Regions from separate parts of the Homo sapiens genome. Here regions 1 and 3 are each linked to region 2. Evidence: promoter capture Hi-C in human tissues and cell types (Jung and others, 2019). All regions are on one chromosome and are shown on one strand. Each heading gives the region's core, a stretch centred on a gene start or on the middle of the fragment in contact. The rest is flanking DNA. Distances are from core to core; before and after follow the strand shown.

Region 1 (3,166 bases), core at 352-2,851, 770 kb after region 2:
ATGTTCATTCATTGAAGCCGGAGCTGTCTCTGCCACAGGAGAGCCACATGGTCGGTAGTAACCAGGGCCTCTCCAAGCCCAGCTGTGAGTCACTGCCCAGTGAGTCCCGCGCTTCCTTTAAGGTGCTGGGAGCAAAGAGAGGGTGACTGAGGCAGACCCCAACCCCTGCTCTGCACCATCTGGGCCCTCGCCGTGTTTGAACCTGGCTGAATGAGTGGAGGGCGCTGTGTTCTCAATCAGCGCCTCCGAGGAGCCGTGGGGTTCCTTCGGCATTAGTTCACGGTTTTTGAGAGAGGCCTTAGTTACTGCAGTGAATTTCTTTCCTGTTGCAAAGACGCTTCCAGCCTCACTTTACTTTCTGTGGCCTGATGAGGACCATGGGTGATTTTGTGTACCCAAAGCGCTGGGGACTGCCCACCGTGTGGCCCAGTCACTGGGAAGGAGCCCCAGAGAGCCGGCTGTCTGACATGATGGCTCAGGGTGGTCATCCAGGTTGAAAACTGACCGTGTGATGTTTGATTTGGGCTTCATTTCGTGTGTAGGAGCACGGTTAGACTCACTGTTAAGGAAGCTGGATGCACTTCTCTAAAAGGCTGCACTTTCCGTGAGCACTTTTCGTGGTACAATCCACATGACCCACTTTCTCCCCTGGGGGACGTTGGTTCAGAGGTTGGTAGCACTTGGGGAGAGTATCTTAACACAGTTTCTTGACAGCAGCTCTGGAACTTAGTATTTCTGCCCCGAGTTTTGCCACACTGAGACTTTGAGTAGCTCCTGGTGGACTCAACCCTGTTCAACTCAGAGACGGGCCTCCTCTCACTGATGCAAAGCTTTAAGGCTTCTCTGACTGTTCTGAAACTCTTCGTATTCTTGTCAAGTCTAAAGAGACTGAAGAAAAGATTTAAATACTAATAAAAATCAGTAGATAATTTCTGTAGGTTCTGCTGGAGGAATACAAACTGTTTGGTGTTTTAAATTTAAGTGTAGAAATTGTAGAATGTGGAATTAGCACAGATCCTTCCTGGCTTTCTGTTTCACTTGATCATTTAGCCCAGACCACCCAGGATGTTTTCCAAAATGTTCCACAGGCGTGTCCCGCTGGATCCATTTGTCCTTGTCACTTGGAGAAAGGCCAGTCCCTGTGACGGGGCAGCCCTCTCTGTCCCTCGGTCAGCTCGTGTGAATCCTGGGACCTCTTCCGGTCGGCTCTGCCCGCTGTTCTGGGGTCGACTGCCACGACTTTTGATTCAAGAAGCTTCCTCCAGGCGGGAGCGGCTATTTTTCCTAAATGAGAATTGTTACATTGCAAATTGTTGAATAAAATATTTTGCGCTCCTTCAAGCACCTTCACCTGTGGTTCCCTTTGGTTTGCTGGAAGCGAGTGAGTGCAGGTGTCCGCAGGCCTCGGCGCTGTCCTGGACCGCACCCAGGTCCTCTCCGGGGACCTGCACCTGCCTCGCTGGGACCTGCCGGACTGCGGGGCTGCCGGGTTGGGAGGGGCGTGGGAGACCCGTCCGGGTCCGGTGCGGCGCAGTCCTCCGGCCGCCAGGGGCCGCTGTGGGCGGGGCCGGGGCGCGGGGCGGGGACCGGGCGCGGCCCCGCGGCGGCGGTTGCTGGGTCCCGGCCGGGCTGACTCCGCTTCTGGGCGGCCGGGCCTCCGCGAGTACCGGGTCGACTTCGGAGTCTGCGAGCCCAGCCAGGGGTGCCCGCTTCCCACCCCTCTCCCCGAGCGGCGTCCCCGTCGGGGTCGAACCTCCCCCGCGACAGGCGCCCAGCCGCCTGTTCCCCCAGGCCTTGCCTGCGGACCGCCCTGGGAACGGCGTCTGGGAGCCCCGAGGGGCTGGCGGGACTCGGGGCCCGGGCCATGCGGCAGCCGCCCCCGCCCCTCCGCGACCATCCCCGGCCCAAGCGGGAGCCGCAGCGGCGTTTCTGCTCCTCGCTGCGCCGGCGACCCCGGACCCGGCACCCGTGACCCCTCGCGCTGCCTGCGGCCTCGCGCCGAGGCCTGCCCCGGGAGAGACCGTCCATGCCGTCCAAGGCGGAGAATCTGCGGCCCTCCGAGCCGGCCCCGCAGCCGCCGGAAGGGAGGACGCTCCAAGGACAGCTTCCCGGCGCTCCGCCGGCCCAGCGCGCGGGGTCCCCACCCGATGCTCCGGGCTCCGAGAGCCCCGCGCTTGCCTGCAGCACTCCGGCCACGCCCAGCGGCGAGGACCCGCCAGCCCGAGCAGCACCCATCGCCCCGCGGCCCCCCGCCAGGCCTCGACTGGAGCGAGCCCTGTCCCTGGACGACAAGGGCTGGAGGAGGAGGCGTTTTCGAGGCAGCCAGGAGGACCTGGAAGCCCGGAATGGGACCAGTCCCTCCAGGGGCTCAGTGCAGAGCGAGGGCCCCGGGGCCCCCGCCCACAGCTGCTCCCCGCCCTGCCTGAGCACCTCCTTGCAGGAAATCCCCAAGTCCCGCGGGGTCCTGAGCAGTGAGAGAGGGAGCCCGTCCTCGGGGGGTAACCCTCTCTCTGGGGTGGCCAGCAGCTCCCCGAACCTCCCGCACAGAGACGCCGCCGTGGCGGGGAGCTCGCCCAGGCTGCCCAGCCTGCTGCCCCCGCGCCCACCGCCTGCCCTGAGCCTGGACATCGCCTCCGACTCCCTGAGGACAGCAAACAAGGTCGACTCGGATCTTGCAGACTACAAGCTCCGCGCGCAGCCGCTCCTGGTGCGGGCCCACAGCAGCCTGGGCCCCGGCCGGCCGCGGAGCCCCCTGGCCTGCGACGACTGTTCCCTTCGCTCGGCCAAATCCTCCTTCAGCCTCCTGGCGCCCATCCGCAGCAAGGACGTCCGCAGCAGGTAGGGAGGGCCTGGCGGGTGCAGCGCCCGCGCCGCCTTCGTTGTAGTGTTCAGGCTGCTGGAACCTCGTGAGACCGTTCCCATCAGCAGCGTTTAAGATGCCTAACCGGAAAGAACGAAGCGGGTCTCCCGCAGCCACCCCATCTCCCAGCCCCACCCCACAGCAGCGCCCTTCCCAGAACTTTTCCTGTGCGTTTCAGAACCATTCGTGGGCGTGACGTTGTGTTAAGGTAGACAGGATGGCATCCTGCATACAATTACGTATCTGGCGCTTTTTCTTGTTTAGTCTTGGGAAATGTCGTCAATGTATACGATCCGCCCCTTTGGT
Region 2 (3,192 bases), core at 626-3,125:
ACTTCTGTATTGTGGCTACCTCAACACCTATCTCCGCCCCAGGATCTTCCTTGGAGCGCTAGTCCTACTGCACTTCTCCACTTCAATGTCTCCAGGTTCCCTTCCTGCACAGCCCCCTACTCCCACCGTGTTCTCTGATTTCTGTGGATGGAACCACCATCCATCTTGGTTCCAGAGCCCACATCCCTGTCTCGATTCTGCTTGACCTATTGGGTCCGTTCCATGTCCCGGGGACTCTCTCTTCCTGACACCACTGCAATGTGTCCACTTCTATCTTCTGCCACCACTTCAGCTCAGATCGGTAGCATCTGCTGCCTGTCCTGTGCATCTCATGGCATTATTCCTGCTGTCCTGCAGACCAGTGCGGTTTTGCTAGCTTAGGAACATGACTGTGTCACCCCTACAGTTCCGACAACCCTTCATTTCAAGCCCATCTGCCTTGCTGTGGTTACTCAGGCTCTTTGGACTGGGCCTGGCTTCCTGCCTCTCTTCTCCTCCCCTCTTGCCCCAGTGTACTCCTCAGCTTGGCCACCCTGAGCTGCTTTCCACTTTTCACACAAACCAAATCATCTTTTTCCTCTGCGCTGACTGCTCCTTCTTCCTCGGTGCCTGACTAGCCCTCACGCATCCTTCCGTGACTCAGCTTACACTCTTTTCTTCCAGAAACCTCTGCCTGGGCCCCAAGGTTGGGTGAGATAAGGCTCGATGCCCCTTATCAGTGCTCCTGTGACATATGCTACTTTCCCCAGCAGCAGGTGTTTGCTGGCACTGTCATTGCCCGTTAGCTGCTTCTGCTACAGTGTGAACTCTGCCAGGATGGAAATATGGCTGCTGGGTTCACAGCTGGATCCCCAGCACCAGACTGTGCCAAGAATAGAATATGTGCTTAAAAGATGGTCAGAGAATTCAGCAACGTTCCCTGAGGGTCATACAGTCTAGAAATACACACAAGACCCAGACTAGATGCACATATAGATAGCCCTGGAAAAATAAGAAAGGTTAAAACGGATAATAAGGCTATTTGGTGGCTACGACGAGTTTATTAGAGAGGGCAACCGGAGCCCCCAGCCCCACTCACGGACGTTCTCTCAAATCCACCTCTGAAGGTGCATGAGATAAAGGAGAGCTATTTACTGCACCTAGACGCCAGGCAATGAAAACGGGGTGAGGGTCGAGGGCAGGGATCTGAGGAGCCACATCAGGCCAGCCTTACCTTCATGTTGTCAGGGGGGTCTCCTTGGCCTGTAGTTGCACAAACAAATATCACCAGGGGCTCGTTAATCAGATTCACCTCAACAAAAAGACACACACACGTAAGACCTCCGGCTGTAAGGACCGGGCGTCCTTCCCAAAACTTGACCCCCTTCTCCTTTACTCAGGCTGACAGGGCAGAGGGATTTATGTGAGCAGCCAGACCGTCTTCTCTTTCAGGTTCCAACCTCCTCCAGGTGCTAAACTGAACTCCCCTTCCCAAACCTCCTTCCCTAAATCCGCCATAAGGGAAAGACCCGCTCTCAGAGAAAATGCGACGCCTTTTGGGTCGATGACCCCGCGAGGCGGGCACGCCAGGCCTGCTCGTCCCCCACGCCGAGGCCCTAGCGAGCCCTCACCACCGGGTAGGAGTCCAGGGCCTGCACCCGGCAGCCAAGCCGCCGGCGCCGGGCCTCGCGACCCAGTCTCTCCGACACATCCTGAGCCGTGCCTGTCTGGCTGCCGAAGAGCACCAGAAGCTGCGGGCTCGGCATCGGGGTGCGCCCGGTGGTCTGGTCTGAGACTAAAAACTAGAAGGCAGTTCCCGCCGGCCGGGTTGCAGGGACCGCTCCGCCTTCCGCCTTCCGCCGTCGACCGGAAGTGACGCACTAGGGACGCGCCCTGTGGGGGCATGGCGTCCGATCGAGGCGGGCGTTCACGGGCGGCCAGGGTTGAGTCCCGGGTCGGGGCCGGGGGATTGCCGGCGCATCAGGGCCGAGGGCTGGGGCTGGCGGGGCCGCTCGCTGCCTCTCGCTCGCAGCAGCGGCGGCAGGCGCGGGCGAGGGCCACGGGGAGAGGAGACGCAGCCCCGCGGGTGGCACGCTCGGCCGGGCCCCGGCCCGCGCTCAACGGGCGCGATGCTCTTCTCGCTCCGGGAGCTGGTGCAGTGGCTAGGCTTCGCCACCTTCGAGATCTTCGTGCACCTGCTGGCCCTGTTGGTGTTCTCTGTGCTGCTGGCACTGCGTGTGGATGGCCTGGTCCCGGGCCTCTCCTGGTGGAACGTGTTCGTGCCTTTCTTCGCCGCTGACGGGCTCAGCACCTACTTCACCACCATCGTGTCCGTGCGCCTCTTCCAGGATGGAGAGAAGCGGCTGGCGGTGCTCCGCCTTTTCTGGGTACTTACGGTCCTGAGTCTCAAGTTCGTCTTCGAGATGCTGTTGTGCCAGAAGCTGGCGGAGCAGACTCGGGAGCTCTGGTTCGGCCTCATTACGTCCCCGCTCTTCATTCTCCTGCAGCTGCTCATGATCCGCGCCTGTCGGGTCAACTAGCCTCACCGAGGTGCCGGAGAGGGAGCGCTGGACAACTAGAATGTTGACCTCGAGCCGAGGCCCTACTTGCAGCGCACCGGAGGAGAGGCTCTCTAGTCTGAAGGCACCGCCGGCTTGCGCCGAGCTGAGTGCCGGGTTTCCCTATTCCAATCCTGTTTGAAATGGTTTCTTCAGCAGGGCTTAAAAGAGCAGCCTTCATCCTGAAAATGTATTTCCTTTTGTTTAATGCTTTGAGTAGATAATCCTGAATTGAGGTCATGAGGAGGCCCCCCAGGCCAGACAGTCCTGAACCCCTCTGACACTTGGAAACTGAATATAAGTAAAATGTCCAGGTGGACTCTGAGTATTTCCTGTGGATCCTGGGAAAGTACTGTTGCACAAAGGCTGCAAAGCTGGACTCAGGAATGTCCTCCAACCAGCAGCGCTGACCTAAGAGCTCCCTGTGCCGTCTATCCAGACCAGACTTCGGTAGATGCCTTTGTTAGATCTATCACATGTAAACGAGCTTGTATCTCCTTCCCTGTGCCACGAGAGAGATTGGCTTTTTATTCCAGTCTAGGCAGAGACAGAAGAATGTTGAATAAGAGCACGATTAGAGTCCTGTCTGGTTATCTGTTGCCCAAGAAAAGAACTCTGCTGTCCAGGCACTGCTTGGCTTACTATCCCAGCAAAG
Region 3 (3,262 bases), core at 719-3,218, 830 kb after region 2:
CTGTTCCCCAAGTGCACACCTGAACACTTGGAGGAATAAAGTTCTGTTTTTAATTGTGGAGCTGGACACAGGCTGTTGTGGTTTTGTTGTCCTGAGGTACCGGGCAGTGTACAGGGACCCCCCACCTGGCTGGGGTCAGGCTGCTGCCTAGTGGCTGAGCCACCCTAGTGCAGGCAGTTCGGGAACAAGCAGGGTGCTGGGGGCCCAGAGCTGGGGTCCTGGAAGGCCTCCCGTACCCCGGCTGCCCTCCTGTCAGAGAAGCAGGCTTTCTTTCGCCCATTTCCTGGAAAGCATCTGTGGCTTTGTCCTTCAGGCTAGCCGGCACCCTCCCCAGATGGCTGCCAGCCCTCGCGCTGCCCTGGCTGACCCAGGGGGTTCCCTGGAACAGATGACCTGGCTACCCCGACACGGCGGCAGCCCCCACCCTCCACTGTTCCTTTTGCATGGGCCTTTATTGGCATAAGACTAGCCCCCATCTTCTCCGTCTGTCCCCTAGCTCCCTTTCCTTTGTCTCTGTGGCAGCAGCGCCCCCAGGCCCTTGGCTATCTGGGCTTCGATCCTTCACTGGAGCCACTGTGGGGCCTCAGCCCTGGGCACCTGGCAGACGGGACGGTCCCATGGCCGACCTCACTCCTGAGTATGTGTTGCTGTGCCTGGTTCTCTAGTCTGGTGCCTAGTCTGGGGGCCACTCTGATCTGTGGGTTATTTAGCGGTATATTATTTAATTTCCAAATATTTAGAGATTTTGCCGATATCTGTTACCGATTTTTAGCTTCCGATATGGTTAGAGAACATGGTATGTGTGTTCACTCCTAAGGACACACACCACAGGGAAGTCACTAAGGTCCGCGTTTTAAACGCTGGGGAAACACTGGGTCATGAGGGCCTGGTGCCAGCTCCGGTTCGCTCCCTGGCAGGGCCCAGGATGGCCCCGGCCTGCACACTCGCTCATGTTGATGGTGAGGGGTCCAGCAGGGGCACGGCCCCCTGGAATGTGGCATTCCCGAGAGCCCAGGAGGACCCCTAACTGTCCGCTCCTTAATGTGTGATGTCAGACGTTGTCCGCACAGAGGCCTGAGGGCTGGAGGCTGAGAACGGTTAGGCAAGCTCCACACCAGCTTCCTTGCCTTCCAGCCTGGCGGCCCCTTCTCGAACCTGTTGGGTGGCAACTCAGTTCAACCAGCTTTACCGGGTGAGGCGGGGCCTGGGGGTTCCCAAGCCTGCAGGGATGAGGCTCTGGCAGCCCACACGCTGAAGTGCACAGTTCAGGGCAGACTCTGCTGTCCGTTGTCCCTGGATGGGGGCCGAGCTGTGCCCTGCTGTCACCGGCTCTTCTGAAGCTGGTTTGGGGGACCCCGAGAGTGGCCTCAGTCCTCACATGCATCCTGGTGGAGAGCAGGGATGCCTCATGATGGGGATAACGAGGATAACGACACTTCTGGAAGGGACGTTTCTCCCCCGTGTGCAGCTGGGTGGTGGCCGATGCCATGGCCCCTGGCAGGCTGCTGTGGCCTCCTGGGCTCCATAAGGTGGGCTGCAGCCCTTCTGTGACCAAGGCGTGTGCTGGCCATGCCGTGTGGCTGTGTGCCCCCCTGCACATGCCCTGCCCCGCTGTCCTGAGATGCTGGCGAGGGCGAGGGTGTTCGCACAGAGCAAAGCATGCCTTACTGAAGAAGTCTCCAGAAGCCTGTGACCAGGTCAAAGTGGCTGGGTGCGGGCTGGCCTTGTCCAGCCCCCTGGGGGTCTCTGCTGTCTCTTCTACTTGCCAGGTGCCAGGGCTGGGCCTCTGGGGCATCCCCAGGACCCCCAGCCCCCGGCCAGGCTGGGAGGGCTGGGAGCAGCTTTCCTCTGGAGGGCAGCGGACTTCCACTTCCGTCTGCCTCTTGGGGCCTCCTGGGCTGGGCGAATCAGAAAGCAGGTCACCAGGGACTGTCCCCCTGTGGGAGGACTGGCGGGACTGTGGAGTTAAGCAGAACCCATCAGGAAGTGCACAGGCGTCCGGCGTGCTCCTCCCTCCCTGCAGCCCCGGGCAGCATCTCCCAGAGGCTCCGCGGCCCAGGCTCCTGGTGTGTCTGCAGTGCAGGTGGCTCCTGGAAGACCCTCAGGTGGGTGGGTCTGGTGCTTTCTGAAAGGTGGCCAGGAAGGTTGGCGTTGGCCTAGTTCAGGATCCTGGCACTGATCCCCCAGAGCAGCCTGAGGCTTCCCACAGGCAGCCAGGCAGCCTCCGCCATGCGGCCCCGTCCCTTTCACGGCCCCTGGGCGGAGATGTGTTCATTTCAGTGGAATTACGGTGGCAGATGGGACCCTGCATTTCAAGCTGGGGAAGCAGGAAAGGGGCCCAGTGTTCCCAGGACTGTCTACCGTGTGGCCAGTGTTTTTATTCAGTCCCTTGTCTGTCAAAACTGTCCTGAATGGGGTGACAAAGTGCAGCGGGAAGTTGAGAAATGCCTCAAAAGACCAAGCCTGGGGCAACTATGTCTCCAGGAGCAGTGACCCAGCTCCTCTGGGCTGGAAACCAGCGTTTCCCAGCGGGGCTGGAGGCTGTCTGAGGACCACGTGGCTGCTCCCAGCCTTGCCGCAGTCCCAGTCTCAGAGGGAGTGGCTTTCAGCGGCTGAGGCCCCCACCATGCTGGCAGAAAGGGACAGCAGTGGCTGGTCCCAACATGGGTAGTTCTGTTGCAGCCACTGGGATGGGGGCCGGGCCTCATCTGGGGCAGGAGAAGAGTCCAGGGATTCACTGGTGCCCGGCACCTCAACCTGGAGAAAACACCGCAGCAGCACTCCTGGCCAGCCAAGGGCAACACTGACAGCCCCTCCCAGGGTTGCGGGGCCGGCAGGGGGTGACAGAGACACGCTCCTGTGGGCAGCTCTTCCCGGCCAGTGCAGCGACCCCGCAGCTGCAGCAGGGCTGGGTGGCCACTCTTGCATCATCAGCAGCCGGCCGTGGAGGAGGGAGGGCACAGCCAGGGATGTGAGCAGGCGTCGGTCAGGGGAATGAGGAAGTCCCACAAGAACCGGCTCCCCCAGCTGCTGTGCTGGTGGGAGGGCCACTGGCCAACCTGCTCTCACCCAGCTTGGGCTGGCCATAGTGCCAGGCAGTTGCCCTCAGCTCCTCTGCCCATTCCAGCCATGGAGGTGGCTAACCTTGCAGGCTCCAGGGCGTGATGGGAGTGTCCAGGAGGCAGAGGCCAGAGGGGGTCATGCTGTAGGGGGAGTTCCTCTCTCAGACCCCATCTGTGCCTCCCCCGCTGCGTATCTGGGT

Evidence for each region. Contacts are between HindIII fragments. The study calls those that stand out against the background at their distance.
Region 1: the fragment with the promoter of INPP5E here is called in contact with the fragment with the promoter of TMEM203 in region 2 in 2 of the 25 tissues and cell types used here (dorsolateral prefrontal cortex and spleen).
Region 3: a contact is called between the fragment with the promoter of CARD9 here and the fragment with the promoter of TMEM203 in region 2, in 2 of the 25 tissues and cell types used here (dorsolateral prefrontal cortex and spleen).

Annotation. Positions count from the first base shown.
Region 1 is chr9:136,438,280-136,441,445 of GRCh38, reverse strand. INPP5E (inositol polyphosphate-5-phosphatase E) reads left to right here and starts at 1,601. Exons shown (of 10, transcript NM_019892.6): 1 at 1,601-2,838. The coding sequence starts at 2,027. SEC16A (SEC16 homolog A, endoplasmic reticulum export factor) reads left to right here. Exons shown (of 32, transcript NM_014866.2): 32 at 1-1,341. RefSeq lists silencers at 1,443-1,642, 1,693-1,872, 1,933-2,422 and enhancers at 1,495-2,128, 2,129-2,763, 2,713-2,822, 2,764-3,166. The HindIII fragment of the contact is 9,976 bases long and covers 1,044-3,166 here.
Region 2 is chr9:137,204,331-137,207,522 of GRCh38, reverse strand. TMEM203 (transmembrane protein 203) reads left to right here and starts at 1,875. Exons shown (of 1, transcript NM_053045.2): 1 at 1,875-3,192. The coding sequence starts at 2,109. The coding sequence ends at 2,519. It overlaps NDOR1 (NADPH dependent diflavin oxidoreductase 1), which reads right to left and starts at 1,823. Exons shown (of 14, transcript NM_014434.4): 1 at 1,611-1,823; 2 at 1,214-1,291. The coding sequence starts at 1,745. RefSeq lists a silencer at 1,860-2,119. The HindIII fragment of the contact is 14,043 bases long and covers 1-3,192 here.
Region 3 is chr9:136,372,375-136,375,636 of GRCh38, reverse strand. CARD9 (caspase recruitment domain family member 9) reads left to right here and starts at 1,968. Exons shown (of 13, transcript NM_052813.5): 1 at 1,968-2,105. It overlaps SNAPC4 (small nuclear RNA activating complex polypeptide 4), which reads left to right. Exons shown (of 24, transcript NM_003086.4): 24 at 1-66. RefSeq lists enhancers at 1,073-1,786, 1,806-2,100. The HindIII fragment of the contact is 15,539 bases long and covers 1-3,262 here.